Regions from separate parts of the Homo sapiens genome. Here regions 1 and 2 are each linked to region 3. Evidence: promoter capture Hi-C in 16 types of primary human blood cells and fetal thymus (Javierre and others, 2016). All regions are on one chromosome and are shown on one strand. Each heading gives the region's core, a stretch centred on a gene start or on the middle of the fragment in contact. The rest is flanking DNA. Distances are from core to core; before and after follow the strand shown. Region 1 holds the start of SLC7A11 (solute carrier family 7 member 11). Region 2 overlaps SCOC (short coiled-coil protein). Region 3 holds the start of NAA15 (N-alpha-acetyltransferase 15, NatA auxiliary subunit).

Region 1 (3,992 bases), core at 291-2,790, 1.1 Mb before region 3:
GCATAAATCAAATTTAATGTTTGACAGTTCACCAGTTTTTATCATCTTTACAACAAACTCAGGTAGCTCTCTAGTAATTTGCCTACTCCATAAGGGGGCATTTATTTACCTCTTTACTATTAATTCTCAGATCAATAGAAGAGACATAAACTTTGAAGAAAAATTCATAATTATACTTCTGCCAGTTCCCTTCAGATTAATTTAGTGAACAGGTGGACAAATTCTCTGTGTCCCTGGAGAACAAGTGAAATATAATGAAAAAAACAGATCTGGGCAAGTACAGAAAACTAACGCCCAACTGAAGTTTTAAAACTTATATTGCAAAAGTGTATGGGTATTGAGAAGAGATGAAAGGTTGAAAAGTAATTTGAAATATGCTCAGGCCATTGCAATATACCCCATTATGATAGGGATTGAGTTATGCGCCATCATACATCTCTCCCATGTCAAGGACTTTTGAAAGGATATTAAGAGGTGACAAGCACATGAACTTAAAAAATATTTTTATAAAGACTGCCACCCATTTGTTTGGCTAATAAAAAGTCAGTAAGACTTCTGCTGAACACTCCGTTCTATGTCTAAATAGCCCATGCCAGGTTCCACTTCACAGGTGTCTCATTCAGCATGCCAGCTGCCAGAATGCCCAAGCTAAGTGTACAACTGCCCGGCACAGAAAGTGTGCATGTTTTTTACTGGGTCATGAAAGTTAGCCTTTGCTCTCATCACCACAGAGAAAAGTCAGAAGATAGCCTGTCTTAGTCAGGAAAAGAAAGTACAGCCTGTAGGAAGCAATTTGAGGGTGTTCCAGATCACACCAACAGCGGATGCTGCATCTGGGTAGTTCACGTACCCGAACAAAAATTTTAAAAATTTGGTGTGGCCTTTGCCATCCATTCACTCCTCAAAAACTACCATTTGCTTTCCCAGAAAGCAAGCTTTCCAGCCCCACAGCCACGCCCCCACGAGAGAAAAAGTCGCACTCACCAAATAGTGACAGGACCCCACACACCGTCCAGATGGTCAGAGACATGCCCACGCTGCCCGTGTTCTGGAGCACGCCCTTAGGAGAGATGAAGATTCCTGCTCCAATGATGGTGCCAATGATAATGGAGACTCCCCTCAGTAAAGTGACTTTCCTCTTCAGCTGCACTTTCTCCTGCCCAGGTGGCTCCTTGTTGCCCAGGGAAGGCAGCCTCCCGTTAACATTTCCCTGCAGGTAACCTCCTTTGGAGATGGTGGACACAACAGGCTTTCTGACCATAGTAGGGACACACGGGGGAAAAATAAAACAGAGGGAAAGAAAACAAAACTTTCAACTTTGGTGTCTCTTGGTGTTACTGATCGATGTCTTCCTCTGCTTTCAGACTGTCTCTCTCAGCGCTATAGTGTTCACAGGTGAAAACTCAAAGGTGTGCTTTTTCCTTCACAGCGATCTAATTACTACTCAGAAACACCTGTGTATGCATCGTGCTCTCAATTCTCCACCTCCTCGTTCCACCACTGCTGCTGCTGCTGCTGCTGCCGCCCTATCATTACAAACCAGCTCAGCTTCCTCATGGGCTTGTATTTAAGCGCCTGCCTGTCACACCAACTTACTACAGCTAAATGATGATGCAAATTCTCCAGGTTTGCATCAGCCACATGAGAAGCCTCCAGCATTACTCAGCTCTTTTTTTTAAAAAAAGAAAAAAACAGGAGGAGCTTGTTGCTCAACTGACCTAAGCTTTTTAGAGAACAAAGCACACACTTTAAAGAGATTTTAGCCAATCCAGAAGTAGTAAATTCGGAACAGACCTTCCCAGAGATTTAAAGCAACTCGTAGTGAGCAACAAAAGCTGTTCAAACAAAATGAAACAGGAAATAGTTACTTCATTTTAAGGAGTTTCTTTTTCTTTAATGCGTGTATAAAAACATTTTACATGCGACTGTTTTGTGAGTAGAATGTATCCTAAAGCTACATTGTTTATAACAACACAGTTTGAATTTCATAATTTGTGTAATGCTTTTTATTTTTTTATTTTGAGTTTTTTATAAGGCAATACAGTCAAATCCAATATTTACAAAATTAAAGATTCTACACTTTATACTTCTGTCACATACACACAACTATAAGCCTTCCTCAACATTAAAAGATAAAATTATTTCTTACTACTCATAATAAACCAGTATTTTAAATCACCATCCGAGTGTGACTAATACAAAATTCACCATGACTCCAGAAAATAGTCATTTTCTGATTCTCATTAGCACTAGGTGATTTTTTTGAACTATGTAAAAGATACATATCCTTCATTGTCATGTTGTTCCTTTGAATTACCAAAAAAAATTTCTAAGTTCAAAATTACACAATTACAATTACATAAAAATATGTATATAGCAAAAGCCTGTAAAGGAAAACAGAATGGTAGTTATAGAAAGTAATGATATTATGTATGACTTTTTTCCACATTATATAAACTATTGTTATTATTATAAATTTAAAATGCATTAAAAATGTAAGCTAAATTAAAATATTTACTTTGCAATAGTCAAAAAGGCAAAACATTTTTAAACCCTTCTAACTTTCTCAACCAAGTGTCAAGAAAAAACAAATATGAAAAGAAAAGAAATCCTAGATATCATTTTTGGCTATAGTTACATGTGGTTTTGGATTCAGTGAGAAGAATTGAATGTTATCATTACCCTGAAGCTACCTTTATACGCACCATTAAATAAGCTTCTGAACCTTTGAACAAAAACCACAAACAAAAAGCCTGTGTGCGAGAGGTTGGCAGGGAAAGAAGGGAGTCAAGTATGGTGAGGATGATCAAAGAAAGAAATGAGAAATCGCCATTAGGAAAGTAGCATGGAAAAGGTCAGAACCATTTTCTGTTATGTTGACACCTGAGAAAATGACACCACCTCAATGCTTTGCCATCCAAATAATTGAGGCTACATTTTCTCCTTTTTAAATTATCTATCTAAATTCTATATAATTGGTTTCAGCTACACCAAGTTAAAGTTTTTATAAAACCAAAATAAATACTTTTTCTCAGTTGTTAATGTCTTTCAAAAAACAAAAATGGATCATTTTCCTCATGCAATCCTGCTAAAACTCCCAAAGAAGGAAGCTAAATAGAGATTCTTTTCTTTCCAATTCTCTTCCTCCTCCTACATCTCCTTTCACTCACACAATTTTCCTGATTAATGGACCTAAGGAGCAGCTCTTCTTTCCCAGTAAGAGAAACATATTAGCTCTGAAGAAATATGAGGTAAAAGTAGGACACTAGGAATCTCAGGGAACAGCAACTTTCTCTAATTAACACAGTGTCACACTTTAATTTTAAATTTTGTTATAAATAACTGAACTCATAAGTTGAGCCAAAGACCCCACTCAGATAGGAAACTGAATGAATTATAAAGGACGATTATTCTTTCAATATTAAATAACATTTTCCTCCTCACAGTATTTTTTTTTTAATTATGAAGAAAAATGGCTGATGTTAGACTAAAAACCAAAAGGATTGTACTTTCATGTAAGATAGAGGCCACCACTCAGAATGTTTGCAAAGCTGCACATTGCTGCTAAGGGCACCAGTGTACCTCTTCTAAGCACCCCAAAATCTGTAGAAAATGCAGTTTATAAAGAAAATGTTGAATTGCCTTGAACTCTTAAAATTGCCAGTTCTAAGCTTGTAAACTAAGAGTTTGGATGGTCCTCAAATACTTGTGTATCATAAAAATGTGTTCAAAGCAAATGAATACATATTTTTCATCCTGTATTAGGCCTTATTTTAAGTATAGCTGTCAAATTATGAGACTATCCTAGTGCTATTCGCAAATACTTATTTACTGCTTATTGTGCACAAGAAATAGTCCTAGCTTCCTCACAGCATCTCGTAATAGAAATAGAAATAATGTATACTGGTAGCTACCGTTTTCTAGTAACAATTTCTGTCCCATGGTTATAAATACAGGCATATCATCTAGGCCTGGCCAAAAATAATCCAGTG
Region 2 (3,799 bases), core at 977-3,476, 1.1 Mb after region 3:
ACATTCCTGAAAGGCAGGGCTTCTGTTATACAGTGTGTCAACCTCACACTATTACGCAACAATAAGGACAGATGCCATTCCAGGTTGCCAACACGTTTTCTATGCCCGAGGACCCAAAGCTGTGCCCATGTATTCTGGTACCTCTATTCCTGATTAAAATCAGTGTAGCTAGCCATTCTCTGAGAGTATAGCTTCCATTTAAATCCTCATTTGGCCAAACAGTTCCTTGATCTTGTGGAATTTGAAACTGGATTTATTTAACCAGGACAAGTCAAAGCAGAACTTGAACAGATCTGAACAGACATTATATTGAAGTTCCGTAGCTTGAAGGGAATGGAGTTTATTTTCAGTTGCTTAGTAAAGATTCCAGAGGAGTTTGACATCAGTGGTAGCAAAATGTTTGGCAAACTTAAGATTAGGGCCATATTAAAGTTTTTTCCATTGCATAATGGAAAAAGCATGGACTGTGAAGTTAGACCTGGGTTCAAATTCTTGGTAGAGACATTGGCTGTGAAACCTCTGAAACAGCTTTTCTGAAAGATATATAGACTTTCTGAAATTTAGTGTCCATATCTGTAAATTGCAGTTTCCTTCTGTTGATTTGATGAAATAACATATGCAAAGCATTTAGCACATTAATGCACGAAGACATTATTTTAGCAGTCTTAGTAGTTCTCCAGTATGACAGATGGTGAAATCAATTTTAGATGCAGAAAAGTTGAGTGGCTGAAGATGGACGGGTATTAGGAAAAAGTCTCAAAATCTGCAGGCTCAGATGTGACAATAGTTGTGGTGGAATGGTGGAAAAAACACTGGGCATTTGTTGTAGTCTTGGCCCTGTTGCTAACTACTTCTGTGGTCTTCAGTAAGCCATTGTCATCTTTGGCCTTGATTTTGTAAAATGAAGCAGCTGGACCAGATGGTTTTCTTTAAATTCTTTCTGTTGCCCAAATTAGAGCTAAAAGGTAGAGAAGACGATAGCAGACATTTATTGAATACCTACTATGTACTAGGTACTGTTGCCAACACATTGTATCTATCCACTCATTCTCACAACAAACCCATGAGATACGTACGGTTATTATCCACATTTTACAAATGAGGAAACTTAAGGCCGAGGTGTTAACCTTGCCCAGGGTTCCAGAGCTTATAAATTGCAGAGCTAGGATTTGAATCCAGGTAATCTGAATCCATATTGTTAATCATTGTGCCAGGCTGCCTCTTGAGGAGAGTGATATTGTGGATATTGTACACTATTAGAGATAACTGTAAAATAAGATAGGGGCATATTTGGTAAGATGATCGTCTTTGGTCACAGGTGTGTGTGCATGGCAAAAATTATTTAATTAAATGAATCTTGTCCCAATGTTTGCCACATTTCCTGGTTTGTATTCTCTCTATGCGTTCTGCCTCCTGGACTTAAATAATCAAAAAAGTAATTCTAGATTCCCTTCCACTAACCAAGGCTAGATACCCGAATTTACTGTGTTTTTTGAGAAACCTTTGAAAGGTCTGACCTAGCCATACATCAGAGCTGAAGAATCTCAGCGAACCATGTCCATTTCTGGGGTAAGGTGGTTTAGGATAGGCAGAGCAGCCTCAGCGCCCCAAATTCATTTCAGTGTTCCCACGCTTGAGCAGACTTGGTCTTAATTTTCTCGTTTTTCATCAGATTTGCGTTTATATATAGGAGCAGAAGGAGTTGAAAGTGAACTCTTAAGAGCATATTTGACATGGAATTAGATTGATGTTATAGCAACTATAGGTAAAAAAGGATTTTATAGTTGAAAAATTTGAAAAGCTCAGTATTAAGTATCTGTTATGATGTAGTACTGTGTTAATGTAGACTTTGGGCAGTTTGGGGATCAATACTATTTTAAAAGAAAAAATCCATGGCTAAAATACTTTGACATAAAGAACTCAGCAAGTCTTTTGATCCCATATGTCAAACAAATCAGTTTATTGCCCTAAATCTACTGAAAGACTTTGAATATATATTAATACAATAGTAGCATTTTGAGATGGGTCTATTTGATCACATCACAATAAAATACAATTGCTTCTTGTTCTTTTGTCGTGGAAAGGCAGCAGGTAATGCTGTGGTCCACTGTACTAAAGAGTAATGCCCTTATGCGTAGGGCTGCCAGATACAGTGGGCGGTTTTTTCACTGTGCAACACTTGGGATGCAATCTTACGTAGACTGTGGTGTGAATTGTGCTCTCTCGCGTTGTATACCCTTATAGCACTGTTCTTGTGGCACTACTTTTGTGCTCCTGCCTCTACCCTAATCTTGAGTGTAAGAGTAATTTTTCCTTTAATAAGCCCTCTCCACCCTGTTTTTCTGCTTTTTATTTTCTTTCACTTTTTCAGATGAAGTCACACTGTTGCTAAACCATGCATAGGTTTTCTATTGTTTGAATTATATGTGGTCAGAATTTCAGAAACTGGCTTCTTTTTCTTTACCTCTTATATTGGTGAGTTTGGAATACTTGTGTTTTTGCAGACTTTTTGGTTTAATTTAAATATTAGTCTGAAACATAAGCAAAAGAAGACTACCCTATCACTGTATTATATCTGACTTCAAAATCAGCTGTGTCGATTTTCTGATTATCTGTTGCTTTGGCTTGTATATCTTATAACTCTTCTTAGCTATCATGAAAATTCGTTCTAGCTGTAGCCTTAAAATCATTGGATATGAGAAATTTGAAGCACTTTTAATTTATTATTTAGCAAAGACAGATGCCAAATTGCAGCTTACTCTTGCTGAGCACTCCCACGATCACTTTTGCTTTTGGCTGTTGCCTCTCTCATCTTACTCAGACCTCTTTTAGCTGGATCAGTGGTTGAAATGGTATGAAAAGAGAATGACTGTAGTACCTGGTTACAGGTGTGCTTCTCTGTCAGGGAAATGTCAAATCAAGTTTTCACTGACACTCTTCCTCTTCAATTATAGTTAAAGAGACATGTTGATTCAATGGAGAGGAATAGTTTTTGGAGTGTGGTCTTTAAATACTACAGTAGGCTGAATAACTTTTAAAAAAAGAATTGTTGGAAAAATTTTAGTAATCTGAAATGCAGAGAACCTGAGAATTAAATAATGTGAAAAAGAGGTCGGGCAGAGCAACTTTAAATGCGGTTTAGATAAGGGGACAGATGCTAGAAGACTTGGAGTAGGTTTATTCAGCATTATTAAATTAATTGTATACCATTTGTAGTTAATTATTTAATAATGTTATACAAGGGATATTTCATATTTTTTTCTAGACTAGTGAGTGCTATCTAACTTGAACTATAAACTTGAAGTTTATGTATATGTACACTGGGCATTTTAATTTGAAGTTCATGTTAGTATCTAAAGTGTAACAGGATTTATGTAGATGTACACTGGGCATTTTCAAATTTCATGTTAGTATCTGAAGTACAACAAGATTTGTATTAACAGCTGTGAGAGAATGTGTAATACACTGATATCTCTATTGTGATTCTAGTTCTAGTATGTAGATATCCTTATTTAATAGGTCTGCTTTCTACTGTTTAAGATACGGAGGCATAACAATGCCTTGGGCATAGAAGATATTCAGTAAATACTTGTTGAAAGAATAACACTGACAGGTCTAGGTTGCTTCAATGTAGTAGATTAGATTGGTTAACAAATCTGTTTTCAGTAATAATCTGGTGACATTATTTAATATATTTTGAACATATTGAATGAAATGATTGTTAGCAATGGAGCAGAACATGTTTTATAGAAATTTTTTGTTCTAATATTTAGAAGTCTTCATTGTAATAATAAAATGT
Region 3 (4,028 bases), core at 1,088-3,587:
CCATGTTGGTCAGGCTGGTCTTGAACTCCTGACCTTGTGATCCGCCCGCCTCAGCCTCCCAAAGTGCTGGGATTACAGGTGTGAGCCACCAAGCCCAGCCTTTTTTTTTTTTTTAAATAAGATCCAAGTACTTAATAAGATGTAACAGTCTCAATAGAGAACATCTTACATATATGGAGAAATTTCACTCAACATATCCCTTTTGTAGAATTAAAGTTTGCAAGGTAAATGATTTTATTTCTTTCTTTTTGGTTAATATTTTTTAGAGTTAGCATTTGGAACATAGTGACATGCAAGCACATGGGGTAAGATGAATTAACTATCATCAGCAGCAGCAGCGGCAGCATATAGCCTTGGATATGTTAACTTTCTGAAAGCATGGCTGTTACTTACAGTATAACTCAAATGGGATCTCTATTTGTGAAATTGTGGTGATCAGAGTAAATATATATTTTTTTATTCAATTCAGGCTACTGTGTGGTCAGACTGTTATCTGTAGGTGCATTTTAACTAGCAAATGAATCAGTTAAATGTTGAATCAGACTAGTATTTGCCGAGCCTTTAAAATTGCCATTTCTTTGTCATCACCCAAAAAGAATGTAACATTTGCCAAACTCTATTTCTGGCTCATCTAATCAGGTACTCAGGTTCTGGTGGAAGCTACTGATTGTTTCAAAGACCAGAAATTTTCTTCCTCTGAAGGAAAATAGAATATTCTTTACAGGAGAAATTTAGAGAACTATAGCAAATAGTATTGCTGTAGGGATTTTTGGATATGAAGCCAGAAATTTGGATATGAAGCCAGAGATTTGGAAATCCAAGCTAAAACTATCAACTGCATTTAGACTATTTTTTCTGTCTTTCAATAGTTCAGACAGTTGAAAGATCTCTTGGGGCAGTGAATTTTGCAGGTTATTACTAAGTAACAGCTTAAAAATGAATTATAAGCTTGTTCTTAGTTTTATAAAGTTAAGGTTAAAATACTGGCCATATTTCAAACTGAAACATAGTTTCCTGTATATATGATTTTTCTCAAACTTTTGAAGAGAGATCACAGAATTTAAGGAAACTCCAGGATTTGACTGTTAAAAACCTTATTTATGACCCCGGTGAAGGGCGAGGACAATCAATATAGCAGCTACAAAACCCAAGTTTATATTGGGAAACATGTATCTCAACTCACACCTTTCAGGGACAGTTAAGAGAAGTTTGAAAATTAAAATATCTTTGCAAATAAATTTAAAACAGTAAAAAACACGCACATATTGTTTAATAATTCATGATGCAAAGAATGCTACAGAGTGAAATCAGGATTTGGAAAGAGGTAATCAAAAACCAAAGGTTAAAAGTGGCTCATATAACTTGAAAATTTTTAGATCAATGGAATGCCACTTTGAAAAAGTTTTACGGTCAGCTGTTAATGAAATGACTTACATTTTTGGAAGGACTCCTATTCGGTATGTAGTCTGACCTCGCCTACTCGAGTAGTTCCCTCTAGTATCCTTGCCAGTCTTTGGCTTCTAAGATCTGAGAATTTCTGGGGATGGGGAGTTCGAGTCACAATATTAAGAACTAGTTTGAAGCCAGCTCCAGGGTAGTCTGTCTTTAAGTCTCCACTACTCCGCTCCAAGGTGACTCATAAGGTCGGTCCGTCAACTCTGCATTATATGGCCTCAACAACGAAATTAAAACACATACTTTAACCTCCAGAGCCTCCTTTGGCAGTGCAAATATGTCACTTCGGATCTGACTAACTACCTTTCCAGGCTGATCTTAAGCAACATTCACCAAATTACCGATACGACAGCCAGGCCCATTTCATCGGTCAAGCTCTTTCACGATTTCCAGACTCTGTTAAGCCCCTTTCTCCCCAGGGCTGTTAACAAGTCTCCACTGCGGTGAAGCTTTTTTCATTTTCCACTCCGCCTCTGCTCCTTAAATTAGGCATTTCGTCCATAATCAACTACAGCGCTTCTCAAACACCTACACCTGTATTTTAGCACTTTGGGCTCAAACGATGATCACACAGTGTGCGAGACTCTTTCCAAGGAATGAAAGGTCGATCTAGCAGGAAGGCGCCAGAGAGGCTGTTTTTGATGAGGAGGCGGTCTGAACCGTACTTGCCTAGCCTCCCGTAGCTCCGCGGGCGCTTCGAGGGTACCACGCACTGAAATGATGGGCGGGGCCTGCCCCGACCCTCCCGGCCTCCACAGGCAGGCCAGCCTCCAGGTTTCCCGGCAAGCTCCGAAACCCAGAGGAGGTGGGGAAAGGAGGTCACCGCGCCTGCGTGTTAGGAAGCGTGACCCGGGTGGGAAAACCCTCCGCGTCCGCCATTTTGGCTGCCTCTGTCGGTCTGTTCAGTTACCACGTGAACCGCCGACGGAGACCCGTAGTGGGGGAGGCGGCGGCAGCGTTAAGTGAGAAAGGAAAAAAGACAACGAGGAAAAAGGAGGTGTCCGGGTAGGGCAACGCGGCGACACCCGAGGCCTGGTGGTGGCGGCGGATCGAGATATTCAAGGCTGAAGCAGCTACGGAACGGCAGCGGCGGCGGTCGGACAAACTGACTGACCGAGCCGGGTGGTGGCGGGAGCAGCGGGAGCAGCCGGAACGATGCCGGCCGTGAGCCTCCCGCCCAAGGAGAATGCGCTCTTCAAGCGGATCTTGGTAAGTGTGAGGCTCCGGGCAAGCGGTGGGGAGGATTTAGCCGGTAACCGGGCCTGTCACCCCTAACCTCGGCCCGGCGGGCACTGAGCCACTCCCGCCCGGGACCCCGCCTTCATAGCTCTCGTCAGGCCGAATGCATTGCTTTGCTCCCTCTCTGTGGTTCCTACTATGGCCCGCGCGCCAGGGACCACAGGCTTCTTCATTCCATCCCCACGCTTGAGGCCCTGGTTCCGGACTAGGCCCCGACCTCCCGGCTTCTAGACTGCCGGTTCTCATTCTCCCCGATCTGGGGGAGAAGAGGCCCGGCCTTTGGCGGGCAAGTGGGCGACACCGGCAGGAGTCGCGGCCCGGTTGGTGTGGGAACCCTGCTGGCAGGTCGGGGTGGCACCCTTGGAAGGAACAGGTGGTGCGGATGCAGCAGGCTCATTCATTGCCTAAACGCGGTTCTCCCTCCATCATCTGTCCCTCCCTCTTCCTCCTCTCTTGGGATTCACCTGTCTCCGCCCGGCCCGGGGTCACCCAATGACCTGAGAGGAGGGAAAGAAGGAGTTCAGAGAAGGAAAGAAAGCTTTTCAAACGACTACCTCCTTGTAGTCAGTTGCATACTGGAGTCTTCAGCTCCTCTGCCTCCGTTGTTCTCGTTTCTGGAGTAGGGATGAGGCATTTATTTCTTAGTTTCCGAGCGGGAAACAGCCCCACCCCGTCACTCTTCTCGGGAGGTGGGGCCCATTGCGAGGGGGCGGTTCGGTAGGAAGTAAAAAGTTGAGTCTTTAGTTGAAACGTTGCAGACCTAGACTTTTCTTATACACTGAAGTATATTAACACATGCAAAAACTTACCAGAGAAATGAGAATATAAGAACTTTTGAGATGGATTTTGTTGACGCTAGCTCAGACTTATTCCCTACGGTTCAAATGTGTGCAGTTTGTATTTTTTTAAACCATAAATGCATTGATGTTTGCAGGGACTGTTTACATTGTAAAATATGTCCTGTAGCCTTGGAGCTATAATTAACACATTGTAGCACATTTTTTGTTTGGCATTTAGTATGTGGGTTCCCCCTTTCACGCAAACGTTTCCTTATGATAGAATTAACTGTATTTGCCAAATTTAAGACTTTTAAAATTTGGGATGTGTGTGTGAAAGTGTTAGCCTTTTCCCCCGCAGTTATAATTTATTTCACCTGTTTGAAAAGTAGAACAACTCTGGGGATTCAGTTTTTCTAGAAATGAATAATCATCCATTTGAACTAACTTTGATTTTACAAAAGTGTCCATATGCCCTACAGATTTAGTGAATTCATTTTGAAAAACATTAGAAAGTCACATGCAGTGTCGCAAAACTGTTACCTTGAAATTCTTACT

The links. Contacts are between HindIII fragments. The CHiCAGO score rates a contact against its expected background, and 5 or more counts as called.
Region 1: the fragment with the promoter of SLC7A11 here is called in contact with the fragment with the promoter of NAA15 in region 3 in 1 of 17 cell types (erythroblasts); the score reaches 7.6 in erythroblasts.
Region 2: a fragment that was not itself captured here is called in contact with the fragment with the promoter of NAA15 in region 3 in 5 of 17 cell types (fetal thymus, total CD4 T cells, non-activated CD4 T cells and 2 more); the score reaches 12.0 in fetal thymus.

What each region holds. Positions count from the first base shown.
Region 1 is chr4:138,240,809-138,244,800 of GRCh38, forward strand. It overlaps SLC7A11 (solute carrier family 7 member 11), which reads right to left and starts at 1,541. Exons shown (of 12, transcript NM_014331.4): 1 at 985-1,541. The coding sequence starts at 1,261. RefSeq lists enhancers at 887-2,086, 1,556-1,795. The HindIII fragment of the contact is 788 bases long and covers 934-1,721 here.
Region 2 is chr4:140,374,304-140,378,102 of GRCh38, forward strand. All of the region lies in intron 1 of SCOC (short coiled-coil protein), which reads left to right. Among named protein-coding and RNA genes, the nearest start is that of SCOC, 2.6 kb to the left of the region's middle. The HindIII fragment of the contact is 6,823 bases long and covers 1-3,799 here.
Region 3 is chr4:139,299,168-139,303,195 of GRCh38, forward strand. NAA15 (N-alpha-acetyltransferase 15, NatA auxiliary subunit) reads left to right here and starts at 2,338. Exons shown (of 20, transcript NM_057175.5): 1 at 2,338-2,664. The coding sequence starts at 2,611. It overlaps NDUFC1 (NADH:ubiquinone oxidoreductase subunit C1), which reads right to left and starts at 3,310. Exons shown (of 6, transcript NM_001184989.2): 1 at 3,249-3,310. RefSeq lists enhancers at 1,729-1,848, 2,329-2,388. The HindIII fragment of the contact is 1,328 bases long and covers 1,903-3,230 here.